Regions from separate parts of the Homo sapiens genome. Here region 2 is linked to region 1. The links are contacts of gene promoters, found by promoter capture Hi-C in blood cells and fetal thymus (Javierre and others, 2016). All regions are on one chromosome and are shown on one strand. Each heading gives the region's core, a stretch centred on a gene start or on the middle of the fragment in contact. The rest is flanking DNA. Distances are from core to core; before and after follow the strand shown.

The links. The method cuts DNA at HindIII sites, captures the fragments that hold promoters and counts their contacts. A CHiCAGO score of 5 or more calls a contact.
Region 2: a contact is called between a fragment that was not itself captured here and the fragment with the promoter of NMNAT2 in region 1, in 1 of 17 cell types (endothelial precursors). The highest score is 5.4, in endothelial precursors.

What each region holds. Positions count from the first base shown.
Region 1 is chr1:183,414,407-183,420,298 of GRCh38, reverse strand. It overlaps NMNAT2 (nicotinamide nucleotide adenylyltransferase 2), which reads left to right and starts at 1,919. Exons shown (of 11, transcript NM_015039.4): 1 at 1,919-2,116. The coding sequence starts at 2,032. The HindIII fragment of the contact is 2,573 bases long and covers 428-3,000 here.
Region 2 is chr1:182,895,384-182,901,195 of GRCh38, reverse strand. It overlaps SHCBP1L (SHC binding and spindle associated 1 like), which reads left to right. Exons shown (of 10, transcript NM_030933.4): 10 at 962-1,331. The coding sequence ends at 1,213. Among named protein-coding and RNA genes, the nearest start is that of SHCBP1L, 55 kb to the left of the region's middle. The HindIII fragment of the contact is 650 bases long and covers 1,308-1,957 here.

The DNA.
Region 1 (5,892 bases), core at 670-3,169:
GAGATCGAGGCTGTGGTGAGCTGAGATCATGCCACTGCATTCCAGCCTGGGTGACAGAGTGAGATCCTGTCTCAAAAAAAAAAAAAAAAAAAAAAAGAATTATCCTCTATATCCAATTCATCTGCAAAGAATTATTGGTTCTTTCTGTTGTATAAGCATAGAACATCTATCTTCCCCTACCATTCTCAATTTCAGTCTACTCATTGTTTAAGCCAAATTTCAAAATCTATAAAACATATCCTGAGACCATCTACTTCTCGTTGCTCCCGTCTCTATAAACCCTGGTCTCAGGACAACTCCACTTGCCTAGGCTACCAGATTTTCCTAAATGCTTTCCTTGTCTTCCCATTTGCCCTCCCTTTCCACCCAGCAGCCAGAGTGATCCTATAAAAATGTAAATTACATATTATTCCCCTGCTTAAAAGCTTCAGTGGCTTCCTTTTGTTATTATTCCACTTAGAAAAGTGTCTAACTCTTGCCCTAGTCTACAAGCCCCATTTGATCTGGCCCTGATCACCTGCTGCTCAGTCTTCTATCATTTTTCCCCTTGCCCATACTTTCTAGCATCACTGGCCTTTCATTTCTATGAATACAGTAAGCCCTTCCCTGTCCCTGAATACGTGAGCTAGCAACTACTCCTGTCGCTCAGGTCTCACTGAAATGTCACCTCCCCAGAGAGGCCTTCTCAGACTACTTGATTCGTCCTCTCTTCTCCACTCACTCTCTGCTCTGTCAGAGAGTAAATTGCATTCACTTACTGTGCATTGCACAATTGCCATCTAATATTTATTGTCTATCTTCCTCCAGTAAAATGAAGACAGTGACTTTGCTTCACCAGCAGGGTTTATAGCAATACTTGACACATAATGAGCCCTCAAGAAACACTTGTTAAATGGTAAGTCTTTGTCTCAACTTTGGTAGCTTATGGAGGATCCCCATCATTTTCTTTTTTCTTTTTTTTTGTTTCGAGATGGATTCTCGCTGTCGCCCAGGTTGGAGTGCAGTGGTGCGATCTTCGCTCACTGCAACCTCTGCCTCCCAGGTTCAAGCAATTCTCCTGCCTCAGCCTCCTGAGTAGCTGGGATTACAAGCACTCGCCACCATGCCCGGCTAGTTTTTGTATTTGCTTTTTAGTAGAGACAGGGTTTCACCGTGCTGGCCAGGCTGGTCTCGAACTCCTGACCTCGTGATCCGCCCGCCTCGGCCTCCCAAAGTGCTGAGATTACAGGCATGAGCCACCGCACCCGGCGGATCCCCATAATTTTCTAATACAGTTTTAGTAACTCTGCCCCCTTCATGTTCTCTCAAACGGATAGCATTGCTTCGCCCACGAAAAGGATCAGTATTGCAGAGGAAGGGCTTAGATCACCCCTATCTCTCTGCAGCCAGCAGATCAAGATTTGGACTCAACTCAATAGTTTGGAATCATCAGATAAAGGAAAAAGGAAAAGCAGAAATGAATACTACTGAAATAAACAATGGTCATTTCTCACTTAAAATTTTGAGGAAGAGAGAAAGAAAAAATACCTTAAGATCAAACATTTTTTAACTTGGAGATGTTAGAGAAAGTAGGGGGGACAGAAAAATGTTAGAATGAGGAGGAAAACTGAATCAAGATGAGGCAAGAGGCAGAAAGAGCTCACACCATGCTGTGGGCTCTTGGTTCTGAGCTTGGATACCACGTCTTGCCTTCTGGATAAACTCTAAGGAAGACAGTGATGGAGTGAAGTGGGCTGGGGGCGATAGAGAGGATGGGGTGGGGCACCAGGCGAGAGATGCGAAGGAAGCCAGAACGAAAAGAGAGCGACCGAGGAGAGAAGAGAGCAGAGCAATACAAAAGCAGCCTCGGATCTAGCCGGAGCTGCAAGCGTTAAGGGGAGGCGGAGAGTGACGCGGTTTGCGTCTGGAGCGGCTCCTTGGAGTCCACAGCATCCACCGCCGGAGCCTCGCCTTCCTTTCTCCCTCTGCAGACACAACGAGACACAAAAAGAGAGGCAACCCCTAGACCACCGCGAAGGACCCATCTGCACCATGACCGAGACCACCAAGACCCACGTTATCTTGCTCGCCTGCGGCAGCTTCAATCCCATCACCAAAGGGCACATTCAGATGTTTGGTGAGTCCTCCCGCCCACCTCTGGAAGCCGCTTCCGCTCCTCTCCTTTCCCAGGCACCTGTGTTTTCCAGGGCGATCGAACGGGAAGGCGTGTGCCCCTTCGGAGGGGTGGGCCGGCTCATCCAGCTGGTGGAGGTCGGCCCCTTCATTTTGGACTCAGGGGAGGGTACGCAGACTGCGTTTCCGAGGCGTCACTTGCCGGGGCCAGACCCGGCTCGCAGGGGGCCAAAGGTGGGGGATGGGAGGGGACTAGAGATGAGTATCATTTGGGGCTGGGCAGGGGTTCGAGATACCAGAACTGGAGTGTGGCGGTGCGGTGGTTCGGCTACCAGGCTGGCGAAGACCGGGATGGGGGCAGAGGTTGGGGCGCCGAGTAGGGGAGGAAGGGGCTGGAGATAACGTGCTGTTTGTTTAGGATGGGCCGAAAGCTCGAAGGAGTTAAATCATGTATGTGCCTGGGATTCGCAAACACACTCGCGCCCGACACACCGGTGACAGGGGCTGGGGCTTCAAGATTAATTTCGGATTTGGCTGGTGATTCTGGGCGGCCCAGGGACCAGTGTTTGGGAATTGTGGGCCGTGTATTGCCCGCGCGAGGTGGATGCTGAGTGAATAGGGAGGGGGCCCTTTTCCGCCTAGGTTCGGCCTCAGGGACCCGCTGCCTAGGACGGGGAGGGGGCCGGGCGGAGGCTGCGGGAGGCCCTGCGCGAGCCGGAGCCGAAGGATCGGGGCCCAAGTTGGCTGAGGCTCTGCCCAGGGTGGCGATGGCACTCGGAAGGCTTGAGGCGTCTAGTGTGTGTACGAATGTGCGAATGACTGTGTGTGAGTATATGCGTGTGCGTGTTGGGGGGAGGGGACTTATCGCGCGTTTGTTTCTTAGAAGCTTTGGGGCGTGGAGTCAGAGAGAGCGAGCGGGGGCATCCGGCTGGCTGGTTCGGGGTCCAGCAGCGGTAGGGGAAAGGTGATCGATAGATGCCTATTGGAGGTCTCGCGCCACCGGTGGGAAGCCACGCGGCTTCGCAGCTGCTCGTAGGACTCAAAGGCGTGGGGCATGAGCGTTTAGACACGGAAAGAGGGACGCGGAGGTCACTTTAGAAGCAGGAATTGAGAAGTTAGAAGTTGGGGGTGCTTTTTCTTGAAACTGAGAGAAGCGAGGAGTAGGGAAAAGCGAGTGGGCTGGGATGGATGAGAGAGCGTGTGGGAGGCCCTGACCTGGCCCGCCAGCAAGGCGCTCTCCAGAGGCGGCGGTGCTGAAATGCAGGGCGCGCCGGAGCTGGATGCGGGCACACGTGTTTATCCGGAGCCTGAGGACTGCGCGAGCCCTCCTAGGGAGGTTTAGTGAAAACCACACCACAGCGGTAAAGACAGGGCGAGGTGGCTTAGGCTAAAAATATTCATCTTTAAACTTAAAAGGTGCGCTGAACTGGGCTCGCTTGTTAAAAACCTCATGGAAAGAATATAGAACTACTTTGAGCAAAGGGCAAATCGGGTAGGCATATCTACACGATAGAAGGAGGGAGGCTGAGAGATAGCCATCCCTTCTTCACCATTCCTTCAGCTTTCAAAAGTCTTTTATTAAGAACCAATGCCAACTTGCCTGTTAAATAAGGACTTCTGTTCCAGCATCAGGGTAGACAAGAGCATGTCATCAGTCTTCTAAGGACTATCAGTGCCCTAAGAACACTCCACTTTCACTTTCCTTTGATGCTGGTGTCTTCATCCCTTTCCTTCTTTTCCTGTCTGTCCATATGTCCTCTAGCACTTTATGTTGATGCGCTTTACTCCTCTCCCTTGACCAGGCAATGATGGGTTTTCCTTTGGAACCAAGAGAAAGGAGGAGTAGGGAAGAGCCATTGGGCTGGGGATGAAACTCTGTGGCTCTAAGAATCTTTGATGACCCAGCAGGTACTGCTCCTTTCTTCCTGAAGCTAGGAAATCCCAGTTGTTTTAGATTACAAGAGAAACAGATTTGGATTGAGAACCAAAGATTCTGTCTTGTAGCTGAAGATTCTTTGTTAACAGTAATAAAGGCTTTTGTTAAGCGAATGCTGACCTGCCAATTCTCCATGAGCTTCAAGGATAGACTATGTGGAAATAGACCTGAGTTGCAGTGGAAGGGTTTAGATATAGAAAGGTGAAAGGAGACTTTTGGCAGTAACGATTATTTACTTAGTATAAGAACTGAGGACCAGGGCAGAATGTGAACAAAGTCCTTTGCATGTCCATTAAAGTATAATTCAGAGAGTAATACAAAAAAAGGATATAATATGTTCACTCACTATGGCTTTAAGGAGTTTATTACCTAATGAAGAATTTAGCACATAAACAGGTGAAAATGAGGCAAGAATAAGAACACAAAATACACATTCAACTATTTTTGGTAGAATGTCTTATTGGAATCTTTGAGCTCTGGATAAATTTTATAATTTATTTTTGTAGAGCAGTTCTGGTTAACAAAGCCATTTCATCTATGTTATGTTACTTATTCCTGTTAAAAACCTTATAAGAAAAACATTATTACCCTTATTTTACAAATGAGAAACTGACAGAAGCCAAGTGACTTATGAACACACATGGAGAATGGGTGGCACTGAGACTTGAGCCTCATGTTCCTGATTCCTCTTGCAGAGGCCTTCATACTGCAACAAAGGCTGGAGGAAGTGCCCGCTCATCTTCTGACTGCATAATTCCATGAACACTCTATTTTCATGAACCATAAACTAAGAGAATTAAACTGGCCATCAACTAAGTGAGATTCATATATGTGCTTTTCCTTAAGATCTTTGTCTCATGTCTAAAGAAACCAGTTATTTATGAACTATTTCCTCCTTTTAAATTGCTTTAAAAATTTTCTCTGTGACAACACGGAAATAATTAATACAACTAAATTATCAAACTTTTGGCCAGGTGTGGTGGCTCACTCCTACAATCCCAGCACTTTGGGAGGTGAAGATGGACATTAACACATGAGCTCAGGAGTTTGAGACCAGACTTGGCAACATGGTGAAACCCCATCTCTACAAAAAATATAAAAATTAGCCAGGTATGGTGTTGCATGCCTGTAGTCCCAGCTACTGTGGAGGCTGAGGTGGGAGGATGGCTGAGGTGGAAGCCTGGGAGGCAGAGGTTGCAGTATGCCAAGATAGCACACTGCACTCTATTCTAGGTAATACAGCCAGACTCTGCCTTAAAAATTTTTTTTCAAGCTTTCTTTAAGGTGACTGAAATTTGTAATAATTTTTTTTTAAAAAACAGACACAAACAAGACTTTGAAATTAGGCATTTTAAATAGAGCTCCTATATCCTGAAATTCAATTTCTTATCAAAGGAAAAAGAGAGACTGTAAACAAAAAGAGAAGTGACATTCAAAACTCACTCTTCATCTTTGTAAAGTAGCACTTGTACAATTCTCAATATTTGTAAATATTTTTAGAATGAACTTTTCTTTTACTCTGAAAGGGAAGTTGATATTATTTCTCCTATTTGAAACTATAGAAACATACAGGAAAAAATAGTATTTGTGAGAGATATTTGACACTTGTATACTCAACTGTAACTAAAATGCTTTCAGGGATGAGTAAAAGTTTTTGGCAAAGTAAACTCATAAATGAGTGATGTCATATCTCATGGGTCTGCCTCATTACATAAGAAGATAATGTGGAATTGGAAGTTTTAAAAAATGTAACTGCTTAGTTTTTAACTATGTAGAGATTATAATTTAATGTAGCTTTCTTTACATTTATAGCTATATTTGTCAATAAATCTACCACTGGGAAG
Region 2 (5,812 bases), core at 383-2,882, 520 kb after region 1:
GTGAGCCACCACGCCTGACCTGAAACACTCTTTCTATAGATCTTATTACTATCTGAATGTGGTTGTCCCTCTTCAAAGAAGCCTTTAATGTAAAGAACACTCAAGTGGTAACCTCTCCCCACCCAGTCATGCTATCACATTACCTTATTTTCTCCAAATCACATATTATTTGAAATTACTTATTTTCATGTTTATTATGTTATAAGAGATCAGCTTCATGGGTTGTATTGCCATACAGAATTAGTTGTTTTTATCAATAACTGATAAAAGTAAATTGAAAACTTCATTAAATATTTTCTTACACTTTTTTTTTCTTTTTCTTTTTGTGGAGAATAGGGTCTTGCTATATTGCCCAGGCAGGTCTCGAACTCCTGGGCTCAAGCTATCCTTCTGCCTCTGCCTTCTTAAGAGCTGGGATTACAGGGCATGAGCCACCGCACCTGGCTCATTTAATATTTTGTTATTGGCTGGGCATGGTGGCTCACGCGTGTAATTCCAGCGCTTTGGGAAGCCAAGGCGGGTGGATCACGAGGTCAGGAGCTCGAGACCAGCCTGGCCAAAATATTGAAACCCCGTCTCTACTAAAAATACAAAAATTAGCCAGGTGTGGTGGCACGCGCCTTGTAGTCCCAGCTACTTGAGTGGCTGAGGCAGGAGAATCACTTGAACCGGGAGGCGGAGGTTGCAGTGAGCCAAGACTGTGTCATTGCACTCCAGCCTGGGCAACAAAGCAAGACTCCATCTCAAAAAAAAAAATTCTTATTAAATATTTTTTGTAGTTAATATTACGTTAGTTGGTGTCATGAAAACAGTACTTAACACTTGTTCAAAATTGAGAGTCTTGGTTGTTTTAAAAAATCTGTTAATCCAAGAATAAAGTCTAAGCTAATTTTTATATGTTCATTACTTCATTTTTTAAATAAAATCATTGAAAAACTAATTTCCTCAAATAATTTAATAGGTTCTTCCAGCACCCAAATTGAAGATGACTAATAATCATATTTATAGCAACAAAGGCTATGGAGTAAGCATTCTTCAACCAATGGAACAGTTTTTTATCGTAGCAGAAGAAGCTCTCAACAAAAGGGCTTCTTCAGGAGATAAAAAAGATGATAAAATGCTCTTCAAAGTAATGCAAAATCTGAATCTGGAAATGAATAATAATAAGATAGAAGCAAACGTCAAGGGGGATATCAGAATAGTCACAAGTTAAAGCGTCTGAATTGATGTTAAAGTTTTATATTTCACAAATTTGTTTAATACATGATTCTCATACCCCACTGAAATGGTAGTTTCAATTCAAAGCTTAATTAAAAAATATTTAAATATCATGCTTTCACTGAATGATTCATTTTACATATTTTTAAAATAACAGCTTTATTAAGATATAATTCACATGCCATAAAATTCACACATTACAAAGTGTACAATTCAATGATATTAGTATATTTTTAGTATATAGTACAGTCATCACTATTTAATCCAGAAACAAATATGGTTTTAAATATTGTTTTCTAATACTCCTCCAATAAAAAGCATTAGGTGTTCCATATAGACAAGAGACAAAATTTAATTTATCGCTAATTCACAGTAACCAGAATAAGATAATATGTCATATATTAAGATAGGTTCTTTAAGCTCATTCTTATACATTTTAGAAGAAAAAAGTGAAAAAAAGAAAAAAATAGGATAGATTCAACAGCAAGAAACAAGGAAATCCAAAATAAGAGAGGTAAACAATACAGAAATGTATTTCTCCCTCATAGTCAATAGTTGCAGAGAATAGGGCTAATAGATGTTCCTTGTGGGAACTCAGCGTAGGGCTGGTAGGTAGGTATGTAGGTAGGTAGGTGTTTTGCGTTGTCAGAAATTCAGGTTTCTTCTATATTGTTTCACGATTGTAAGATTTCCATGAAAAATCACTATACGATCCAAGACAGCAATTGGTAATCAAGCTTTCATGCCTGGTTTTCAGCCAAGCAGAAGGGAAAGAACCTTTCTTCAAAGTTGCACACATTATTTTGACTTTCATGCTTCTACCTAGAATGTTATTATGTGGCTACGCTTAGCTGCAAATGAGAAATATAATCTTTACATTGGATGGTCATGTGGCCTCTAAAATAGAGAGTTGATTTTCTAAGAAACAACGAATGGTCTTTTCCCAAAGCAGAGCTTATGTTGACTTAAGAATATAAAAAGAAATTTAAGCATTCAGGCTTAAATACTTAAACTTTTGACTTTTACTTCATGTTATGTGTAACCTAACAAAGGTTACGCTGAATTGCCATAAACAATCTCTTGAGGCTGAGAGTTGATTTTTTTTTTTTTTTTTTGGGGAGATGGAGTTTGGCTCTATCGCTCAGCCTGGAGTGCAGTGGCGCGACCTCAGCTCACTGCAAGCTCCGCCTCCCGGGTTCACGCCATTCTCCTGCCTCTGCCTCCCGAGTAGTTGGGACTACAGGCGCCTGCCACCACGCCCGGCTAATTGTTTTTTTTTTTTTTTTTTTTTTTTTTTTTTTTTTTGTATTTTTAGTAGAGACTGAGTTTCACCGTGTTAGCCAGGATGGTCTCGATCTCCTGACCTCGTGATCCGCCAGTCTCGGCCTCCCAAAGTGCTGGGATTACAGGTGTGAGCCACAGCGCCCGGCCCAACAGCACTTTTTTAAAAGAAGAAAACCTATAGGCAGTTCCATAGATTTTGATTATACATAGTCTGTGTACACAAAGACTTGTTAAAATAATTCCAGGATTGTCCTTGGGGGCCTTAACAAGAAACATCTTTCTATAATGAACGTAGTGAGTATTAAGGGTGGGGATTTTCCTTTTCCATCCTCTTCCCCTACCTTTCTCAGTTTTTGGCTTCAGAAAGAATAGGTAATGGGCAAAGTAATATCTTTGAAGGTATACAATAAAAGCAGTAGCCTTGTGTAAACAAACTTCTTACTCTGGCCATCTACCTCCCTTCTGTTGCTGCCACTGGTTTCTAACCTATTTGTCTTTTCCCAGGCCAACTACAGAATATGGTGATGCTGTTTTTTCGTTTCATGATTCTAAAACGTGCATAAAGCATTTTTAAGATTTTCTAAGAATTTTGATATTTCATAAAATTAATTTTTTTCCTCTTCTACCTTTCCACCCCTACTTTTCCCCCTATACCTTATAAATGAAAGACTGAATTTATATATTGTATATATTGTGTTAGTTTTCCATTGCAGTCATAATAAGTCACCACAAACTTAGTGGCTTAACACAGATTTATAATCTTACAGTTCTGTAGGTCAAAAATCTGACATGGGTCTCACTGGGCCAAAATCAAAGTGTTGACAGGCCTGCATTCCTTTTTGGATGCTCTAGGGAAGGATCTGTTTCCTTGTTCATTTGGATGTTGACAGAATTCAGTTCCTTGTAGTTGTAGGATTCAGTTCCCTGTTTCCTTGACGGTTGACAGCTGAGTTTCTGGTGGCCGATTGCATTCCTTGGCTCATGGCCTCCATCCATTTTCAAAGCCAGCAACAGTGGATCAAGTGTCTCTCCTCTGAGTCTCTTGTCTATTCTTTTGTCTCATCTCCCTGACTCCTTCTTCTACCTCCCTCTTCCACTTTTAAGGACTCATATGATTAGATTGACCCTGCCTGGATGATCCAGGGTAATCTCACATCTCAAGATTCTTAACTTTATATATATAATTATATATATATGATTCTTAACTTTTAAAATATATATTTTATATGTTAAAAGTTAATAATCATATATAAGAACTATGTATGATTATATACTAGATAATATAATCTATAAACTATATAGTTAAATATATAAATAATATATAGTGTAATATATATACTTATTCTTAAATATTTAAATATGTATATATTCTTATATATTATATATATTTAAATACATATATTTAAAAAAATAAGATTCTTGGCCTGGCGTGGTGGCTCACGCCTGTAATCCCAGCACTTTTGGAGGCTGAGGTGGGCAGATCACCAGGTCAAGAGATCGAGACCATCCTGGCCAACATGGTGAAACCCTGTCTCTATTAAAAATACAAAAATTAGCTGGGTATGGTTGCGTGTGCCTATAATCCCAGCTACTTGGGAGGCTGAGGCAGGAGAATTGCTTGAACCTGGGAGAGATGGAGATTGCAGTGAGCCGAGATGGCGCCATTGCACTCCAGCCTGGTGACAGAGTGAGACTCTATCTCAAAAAAAAAAAAAAAAACTTGAGATGTGAGATTATTTATTATATAATAGATATATATTATAATGTACATATAATGTATTATATTAACACAAAAATGTAAAACTAAAATAATGTATTTATTGGTTATTTTTTACATGTTAGCATGAAAAATGTTTTACAGTTATGCCTGTTAAGATGAGAAACATTTAACATTTGATTATATAGCCAACTGCTTTGTTACCTTTATCTTAAATTTATTTCTAGGTATGAAAGAAATATGGAATTTCAAAGTTTGAAAATTCCTAAAAGTGCTTCCATTTAAGATAAATCCTAGGATGACCAATTCATCCCAGTTTGCCCAGGATTTTCCCAGTTTTAGCACTTCTTCTGTCTTAGGAAAACAGATAGTCCTGGGCCAATTGAGGCATTTGGCAACTCTAGTCAGTTCCCAGGAAGTAAAGATTCTTTTTACATCTTTTTTCTATGTCTTAAAATTTATTTTTTTAATCTTTAGTTTTGTGTATACATAGTGGTGTATATAGTTATGAGGTACATGAGATAATTTGATACAGGCATGCAATGAGTAATAACCACACACAATAAATGGGGCACCCATCACCTCAAGCATTTATTCTTTCTTTTTGTTACAAACAATACAATTATACACTTTTAGTTATCTTTTTTAAAAATTTTATTTCAATCGTTTTTGGGGAGCAGGTGGTGTTTGGTTACATGAATAAGTTCTTTAGTTGTGGTTTCTGAGATTTTGGTGCACCCAACACCTGAGCAGTGTACATTGTATCCAATGTGTAGTCTTTTATCCCTCACTCCCTCTTACCCTTTTCCCAAGTCCCCAAAGTCCACTATATCACTCTTATGCCTTTGCGTCCTCATAGCTTAGCTCCCACTTATAAGTGAGAACATACAATATTTGGTTTTTCCATCCCTGAGTTACTTTACATAGAATAATGTTCTCCAATTCCACCCAGGTTGCTGCAAATGCAATTATTTCATTCCTTTTTATGGCTGAGTAGTATTCCATAGTATGTATATACTACATTTTCTTTATCCACTTGGTTGATGGGCATTTAGGCTGGTCCTGTATTTCTGTAGTTGTGAATTGTGCTGCAATAAACATACGTGTGCAAGTGTCTTTTACATATAATGATTTATTTTCCTCTGGGGAACTACCCAGTAGTGGGATTGCTAGATCAAATGGTAGATCTACTTTTAGTTAAAGAATCTCTATACTGTTTTCCATAGTAGTTGTACTAGTTTACATTCCCACCAGCAGTGTAAAAGTGTTCCCTTTTCACCACATCCATACAAATATCCATTGTTCTTTTGATTTTTAAATTATGGCCATTTATGTAGGAGTAAGGTGGTATCTCACTGTGGTCTTAATTTGCATTTCCCTGATAATTAGTGATGTTGAGCATTTTTCATATGTTTCTTGGCCATTTGTATATCTTTTTAATTTTAAAATTTTTATTATTTTATTATTTTTAATTTTTGAGATGGAGTCTCACTCTATTGCCCAGGCTGGAGTGCAGTGGTGCGATCTCGGCTCACTGCAACCTCCGCCTCCCATGTTCAAGCCATTCTCCTGCCTCAGTCCCCCGAGTAGCTG